2 separate regions of the Homo sapiens genome follow, and region 1 is linked to region 2. Evidence: promoter capture Hi-C in human tissues and cell types (Jung and others, 2019). All regions are on one chromosome and are shown on one strand. The core of a region is centred on a gene start or on the middle of the fragment in contact, and the rest is flanking DNA. Distances in the headings are between cores, read along the strand shown.

Region 1 (4,066 bases), core at 993-3,492, 150 kb before region 2:
GTTTCAGGCTGGCTAGTTTCCTTTTGACACGTCTCCTTTACTCTTTTATCACTTTCTTACTTCGTGGTACAAATACATGTTCCAGGCTCAAACTGTTCTTTCCTCATCCCAACCCTAGAATCAGCCTTTTCTCCGAGGAGCTCTGATCCCTCTTAGTTGAATGGTATTTAAAAGCCAGGGTCTGTGCACCAAGTAAACTCATTGCTGCTGGGGTGTCAGTGCTGCTGGGCAATTTCATGTTGGTTTAACTCAATGCGTGTGTGTGTGTGTGTGTGTGTGTGTGTGTGTGTGTGTGTGTGTGTGTGTAAAACTGTGAGTTCATACTGATAACTCTAATTCTAACCTGATATCCACAGGGTTTCTCTTTGCCTTCTCTCATTCTATATTTGTGTTTCCTTCAACTACAGTGAGCATTCTGGCTCCTAGCAACATTCATATATTTCCTCATTTGCATGGTCCCACAATATATACAAAATACTTTCAGAATTGATACACGCATGCAATGAAAGAAAATAACCTACAAAGTAGTTAAATTTTTTTTGCATTGTTTGTTTGTAAACAGAAGTTATTTAGTCAAAGTACTGTGTTCAAGAGTTATTCTGACCCCCTTCAGAGCAGTTATATTATTTATTTGAAATCAGTTTTGCCTACTTTTGAGTTTCATATTATTATTCTTAAAGATTTACTTATGTTGTGAATATCAATATTTCCCCCCACTGCTGTAAAGCAGCAGTCCCCAACCTTTTTGGCACTAGGGGCCGGTTTCCTGGAAGAGGTGGGGATGGGATGGTTTCGGGATGAAACTGTTCCACCTCAGATCACCAGGCATTAGTTAGAGTCTCATAAGGATTGCGCAGCCTAGATCCCTCCCACGCGGAGTTCACAATAGGGTTTGTGCTCATATGAGAATCTAATGCCACCGCTGATCTGACAGGAGGCGGAGCTCAGATGGTAATGTGAGCGATGGGAAGCAGCCGTAAATACAGATGAAGCTTCGCTCCCTTGCCTGCTGCTTACCTCCTGCTGTGTGGCCTGGTTCCTAACAGGCCGTGGAATTTTACCAGTCTGCAGCCTAGGGGTTGGGGACCCCTGCTGTAAAGTATTCTGAATGAACTACACTGTATCCATTATACTGATGATGAATATTTGTGTTATTTCATATTTTTATTATGAATAAAACTGCTATGAACATGCTTGTACATGCCTTTTGATAGAAGTAAGCAATAATTTATTTTGGGTACTTGAGTGTCCACATATGTGTTTAGCTTTAGTAGATACTGCCAGACAGTTTTTCCAAGCAGTTGTTGAATTTACACTCCCGTCAGCAGTGTAAGAGTTCCAGTTATTTCACATCCTCGTTAGTACTTGGTGTTGACAGTCTTTTAATTTTAACCTATCATGGCTACTAGGGAAAGGGTTAAATTGTTTCTGAGAAGCCTGCCATAGGATATTTACCTGGCCTGAATCTATTAATTGCCTGTCTTTTAGTTTGATTGTCCAACTCACATGGTTCCATTTTGTTCTCAGTACAAGTACTGAGTAACTTAAGTAACTTGGTGGCATGCCTTTACTGAAATCCAGATGTATTGTTGTGTTAGGCTTTTTTAGTTGGCAAGGACCAGAGATATTAGCAGATTATTATTGTGAAGACTGTATTGTACTTTAGCATAAGTGAGGAAAACAGGTGAAGCAAATGCCTTATAAAAGAACAATGGGAAAGTCATTTAGAACCCAAGGCAACTCAAAAGCCTAAACCTTCTTGAGCCCTCAGCAGTAGGATCTATTGATTCTTCCTTTAGAACTCACATCCTGGTGACTTAGCTTCACTTTACTGTTCCTTCCTGCTGCTTCTGACTCCTCTGCTTGTACCTCCTCCTCATCTTAACCTTCCTTGTGTCTATTTCTTCCAGCTACTGCTCCAGCTACCAACTGGAGGACTCACTCCCTAGAACTGTTTCAAGGCAGAATTTTCACTAAGCCGTTTCACAGGCTGTGGTCAATCTATGCATTAATCCACATTGAGACAGGTGTCCATCCATAGTCCAATTAGGTTTGGCCCCAGGAAGCAGGACTGCATGGTATCAACACGGCCATTTATGATGAAGACATTCCCTTAGAAGGGCACTATGGGAAAAGCAAGCAGTCTGACTGCCTGGCTAGTTTAATTGTATATATTATAGCCTAATTACTGTGTATATTATATTCTAATTCAGTAGACATTTCTCAAGCCCTCTCCTTATCTGTCAATAAACTATTGGAAAAGGAAATGAACTGTTTATACTGAAGAAGGTTTTTTTGTTTGTTTGTTTTGTTTTGTTTTTAGTCTCGCTTTTAGTACTCGCCCAGGCTGGAGTACAGTGGTATGATCTCGGTTCACTGCAACCTTCGCCTCCCAGGTTAAGTGATCCTACCACACCACTTCAGTCTTCCAACTAGCTGGGACTACAGGCACACTTCACCACGCCGGGCTAATTTTGTTGTATTTTCTGTAGAGACAGGGTTTCGCCATGTTGCCCAGGCTGGTCTTGAACTCATGAGCTCAAGCTATCTGCTTGCCTCAGCCTCCTAAAGTGCCGGGATTACAGATGTGTGCCACCGTGTCCAGCTTGAAGAACTCTTCATAGTGAACCTATGCCAGTTGCTAATGCTTATAGTCTCCTTTCATATGTTCTCAAATAATATATAAGTCCTAAAATGTATCTGTAGAACAGGGTCAAGCCCAAAGTGAATTTTATTCTGTAGATAGCAGAGGTTAGGATGCGTGAGGTATACCTGGTTGTTTGAATTCCGTTTTACAGATGAGGGAACTGAGGGCCAGAGGGAGGCAAAGAGATTTACCCAAAGTCACATGGCTAGGAAGTGGGGGCGGGGGGCATCAGGACTTAAATCCAGGTTTTCTGGTTCCATATCCAGAACTCTCTCCATTACCTCACACTGACATGCCCCATACTCGTGTCCAAGCTGTTAAAAGCACAAAGGAGATTTGATAAAAGCAAACTATAGCCAAGGCAAGTGGTGAGAATTGAGAGGAGGCAGATCTCCTAAAGGCTGAGGTGATCTGGGGGACTGCCTCAGGTTTTGAACTAGGCCTTGTAGAGTTGGTTGGATTTAGAATGGTATGGAGAAGGGAGAATGGTACAAATGAAGATACAAAAGTGGGGGAAATGAGATTTTTCCAGAGACAGAAAAGAGACTCGTGTTGCTGGGTTAGAGGGTTTATTTAGGAAAGGAGTGGTAAAATGTGTGTTAAACAGTAATGAGACTTTGATAACTGTGACAACTTTAATTAAAAAAAAAATCAGATCATGCCCATGCATGTACGGTGGGTCATGCCTGTTATCCCAGAACTTTGAGAGGCCGAGGGAGGAGGGTCGCTTGAAGCCAGGAGTTCAAGCAGTCTGGACAACATGATGAGATCCTGTTCCTACAAGAAGTAAAAAAAAAAATTGGCCAGGCATAGTGGTGTGTACCTGTAGTCCTCGCTACTCAGGAAGCTAAGGCAGAAGGGTCGCTTGAGCCCAGGAATTCGAGGTTATAGTGAGCTAGGTTCACACCACTGCACTCCAGCCTGGGCAATAGAGCAAGACCCTGTCTCTAAAAACAAAAACAGATCAGATCATGATATTATGGTGAGAAGAAAGCTTAAAGTCATTGGTTGCTAAGACTCCAGGCTGAGGCGAAAAGGACTAAACTAAGATGATAGCAGCTGGAAATAAGTCAGACTTGAGAACCATTGAGAAGGCAGGATTAACAGGATCTGGAGACAGCCTAAATATAAGGGTGGGAGAGAGATAAGGAAAAGAGTTAGAACTGTCACTTGAGAGTTTGAGCCTTTGTGACAGGGACACTCTGTATCAAAAGAGGAGAGTATCAGAGGAGGAGGAGGCAGTATGTGTAGTGAGTTAGCTTACAGGCTTTGGACCAAAGCAGACCTGGGACCAGTGACTTAACTGCTCTGAGCGGGTTTGCTGGCCTGCTATGTAGGGAGACAGATTCCCACTTCTCAGAGTGGCTGTGAAGATGGGAGGTATTGCAGGTAAAGTGAAATTCTATAATGTCACATGCT
Region 2 (4,095 bases), core at 1-2,500:
TGCGCTCGCTCTCGTCCCCTTGGCCCATCGCGGCGCCCCCTTAGGCATGGCGCGGCCCAGCGACACCCATGGGAGCGGCCGCCAGGGGGAGTTGGCGCCGGGGAGGGGGGCGCGCGCCCTCTTCCCCCCTCCCCCCAGCCGTCGGGGGGAACAGAGGCCTGCGGCTCTGGCCACCCCAACGAGCGAGCCAAGCCTCTCCGGGCGCTTTGTCGGGTGCCGGTCCAGGGGAATGTGCGCGGGATCCCAGGGGTCTCTAGGAGCCAGATGTGGGAGGGAGCTGGTCCGGCAGCGGAGGAGGCAGAGGAGGAAAGAAGGGAGGGAGAAAGGGAGGGAGAAAGGGAGGGAGGGAGGGAGTGAGGGGGAAAGAGGGAGGGGGGCGGGCTCAGCAGCGAGCCCCGGGAGGTGGGGAAAATGGGTTGGGGGGCCGGGCTCCCGTCCCCATCTCCGCGGGAAAATGGAGAAATCGGCACAAAGCTTTTGGGGGAAAGGTCAGCCGCTCCCGGGGCCGGACTAGAGGCCAGCCCCCAGGAGGGGGAGGGGAGGAGACAGGGCCGGGAAATTCGCGCTCCTCTGTGAGGTGGTCGCCGCGGCGCGCTCTCGGCGCGGGGGAGATGGATGCCGCCTGCCTTCCTCCCTGCGTGGCCGGGCTGCAGCTCGGGACGCAGGGCGGGCTCCGGCCCCCTCCCTCTCTCCTTGCTTGGCTGCCTGCTCCCCCCGGCGGCGGGCCCGCCTGCCCGCCCGCCCTCCTCGTTCCTTCTCCCCGCCTCCTGGAGGAGATGGCGGGCCCCCTGGGCAGGGGCACCCGGGGTGTTGCTCGTGCGGCTAACGCCGAGCGCTGCTCTCCGTGAGCCCGGGCTCGAGCTGGGGTTCCGCTGGGCTGCGCTCGGACTTGGGCTCCCGCGGCGGTGCTGAAGGGACAGCTCCCGGCGGTCGCGGAGCTGCACGGGGCCAGGCGGGGGTTCTCCTGGCTGGGTTTGATTTGCGGGGCCGGCGGGCACTGGCTCCGGTGCCTCTGCGCCCCGCACTCCGCTCCTCGCTTCGGGCAGGCGGTGGGCGCTGCCGGCCGAGACGGGGGCTGCGGAGGTCGGGCGGGGAGGCGGGGGTGGCGGGTCCGGGCGCGGCGAGGTGAGGCCAGCGAGGCCGGTGAGGCGAGGCGCGGAGCGGCCGCTGCCGCCGCCGCCGCGACGCTGCTGCCGCCCGGGCTGCTGCTCCGCTTGCTGCTCGCCCGTCGCCTGCTCGTTCGCGCGGTCCGCGTCCAGCCCGCCGCTCTCCGGACACGGGCACACGGCGCGCGCAGCCGCACTCGCCCCCGGAGGAAGGCGCCGCGCTGGGTCCTAAAAAGCCCTGATTCCGCGCCCCCCTCCCAGCCCCGCACCGAGCCCGGCCTCCCTCAACCTCGGCGCTGGGGGCGCCCGCCCCGCGCGGCTCCTGCTGCTCCCGGGGGACCCGCCCACGGTCCGCCCTCGGGGAACGCCACTCCAGGGGCGGGGGCTCCGAGAGACGTCTGGGCCCGCGCCCCCGGGTCAGACTGAGGTGAGAAGGGCGTTGGCACCCTCCCCTTGCCTTCCAAACCAGGGACCATCTGATCCCTGGTGAGACAAAGCTCTCCCGGAGTTTTGTCATCAGAGACACCCTGGCCCGGACCAGTGCTGACCGCTCCAAGGAATCCTTTAATACCGACCCTTCTCGCGGAACCTGGAGGCCCCATGTTCCTTCCATGGGTAATGTCTTGCATGAACCCCAACACACACACACACACACACACACCACGTTATCCTCTACGCCCTCCACTAACAATCAATCCTGGACCCCTATTAACCCCTTTGGACTCCTTACTGACCCTGGGCCCTTTATAGCTTCAGACAGAGGGAGTCTCCCATGAGTGCCACATCCATCCAAGCTCACGGACTCTCCCACACTAACCCTGGATCCCTAGGTGGAGACCCCTTATGAAAAGGACCTTCTGCCCTCAGAGGTCAGAAGCAGCAACTGCTCGTAGTTTCCCTGAGCACTGACACCCCCACCCCGCACTTCCTAGGGCTTCAACTGCCCTGGGTGATAAGCTGGTGTTATGTCTGGGAGCTGGGTGGGAGCTGCTGCTTGCTGTGATTCCTCCATCTTCACAGTTGGTCCTGGGGGTGGGAGTTCCAGTTTGAACCTCAAAGCCTTCCTGGCCCATGCCTGCTGCTAGTGCCTTGGTTTACTCAGTAAAGCAATCACTCCTTTACTCCTTACTTGTTTCAGGATCCGTCCCAGGCACAAGGACACAAGAGATGAATCTGACCCAGCCTCTGGCCTTGAGAAGCTCCCAGCCTTCTGGGGAGGTGGCCAGGTGGGCCTAGGCAGGACTGGGGAGGTCAGGCCCGTCTCCAGGGGTGGCTGGGGTGGGAAAGAGGCTTATTGATCCCAGCTCAACCCAATCGAACACAGGATGCCTGGGCAAAGGGCGATTTAATTAAGAAGATATGAGGCTTTTATTACTGCTGGCACTTTCTAACTGTGCAGACAGCTGTCCCTCTACCCTGACCCACAGATGCCGTTGTGAGCCTGGGGACAAAGCTGTGCCACAGACATCGCTCTCCTTACTTGGCCAGGGGAATCCCAATCTAGCCACAGGAAAATCTGTGTGTGGTGGGTAAAAGGCTTGAAGGGGTGGAGAGGGGCAGGGCAAGGATTGACAGATGGGAATAGGACAAGGGGAGAGACAGAGAGGCTAAATTAAGTCAGAAATGGGCAGAGTTGGGCAGAGACAAAGAGAGGGTTGGATTTTGGGGCCTGCATGGCACCTCCTCCCTCCAGATATTGATCTGTGTGATTCCTCTAAATAGGAGCTGTTTCCCCTTCAATCTCAGAGTAATGCAGGGATGAGAGTGATTTTGAGTGTCCCTTTCACCCTGACCAGTGTGAGTCCCCATCTCCTAACCACAAGGAAGCCTGGCCTGGTGTGGCCCGGCCTGGTGTGGCCCATCCTGGCCCATATTCAGATCCCCGGGACATGGGTTCTCAGGAAATTCTGTCCCAACATTGGTAGAAGATGAAATAGAAATGGAGAATCCAGAAGGAAGAGAAAAAGGTGGACACAGAGGCAGACACATACACACACACACACACACACACACACACACACACACACACACACACACAGCTGGGAGAAATCAAGATGGGGAGAGACAAGAAAGCAGCCTCTCCAAACCTTCCTTTCTTTCTACCCAGATGTCCAGCCCCTCTTCTCACCCAAGAATCTTCTGGGATTCTACTAGCCATAGGGTTCCAGGACTTCACCTCTCTCTTCACCTGCAGAACCACACGGGATCAGAGTATGGCTCCTGATCTTCTCCATAGCTCATCTGATCTCCATAAAAGGACCATCAGCTCCTCCAGGGCTTCTTGTTTGCTTCCCTCCAGAGTGCCCAGAATACAGTAGATCCTCACTAAGGTCCAGATGATTTGAGAAAGGCTAGGAGAGAGGCTGGGATCCTAGAACCCAAGTGGCAGAGACTGTGGGAGTCTGGAACACCTAATGGAGACCAAGTCAGGAGGAGGGACTTACCCAGGGTTTTTTAGGGAATCAGTGCAGGGCCCCATCACTACGCCATGGCGAGTCCTAATAGGGGGCTGCAGTGTGACCCAGGCAGTTGGGGAGGGGGCACAGAGAGACAGAGAGAAACAAGGGGCTCCTGGTAGGCAGAAGGTTGGGTGATTAGGGGCTCTGGACGATGTGTTAGAAAGAGGGAGGTAGGCCAGGGTTGGAGGCAGAAGGAATGTGAAAGGGTATTCATTGCACCCTAAAGCCCATTACACCCTAAAATCCCCCAAGAGGTAAGCAGAGAAAACTCAGACACAGGAGCCTCCCCAGCAGGAGAGGGTAGCTGTTCCCAATGTGCCCCACACTGTTCCACTTTAGGATTCTCACTTTGATCCCTGATGACACACCCCCAGCCCAGGCCCCAAAGAATGGCCTCCCTTGTGGATCCTGAACAGGACATCAAACTTTCTTCTCTCACTTCCCCTTCACACTGCGAGAATGCTAGCATTTGCAAACAGCCTAGGAAAACCAAGAGGGCAACACAGAAGAAATCAACAAAAACCAAAAAC

Evidence for each region. The method cuts DNA at HindIII sites, captures the fragments that hold promoters and counts their contacts. A contact is called where the count stands out against the background at its distance.
Region 1: a fragment that was not itself captured here is called in contact with the fragment with the promoter of KCNC1 in region 2 in 6 of the 25 tissues and cell types used here (bladder, dorsolateral prefrontal cortex, heart right ventricle and 3 more).

The regions. Positions count from the first base shown.
Region 1 is chr11:17,884,869-17,888,934 of GRCh38, reverse strand. The region is part of intron 9 of SERGEF (secretion regulating guanine nucleotide exchange factor); the gene reads left to right. Among named protein-coding and RNA genes, the nearest start is that of SERGEF, 130 kb to the left of the region's middle. The HindIII fragment of the contact is 4,469 bases long and covers 8-4,066 here.
Region 2 is chr11:17,731,936-17,736,030 of GRCh38, reverse strand. KCNC1 (potassium voltage-gated channel subfamily C member 1) reads right to left here and starts at 1,250. Exons shown (of 4, transcript NM_001112741.2): 1 at 1-1,250. The coding sequence starts at 28. RefSeq lists a silencer at 1,311-1,410. The HindIII fragment of the contact is 8,281 bases long and covers 1-4,095 here.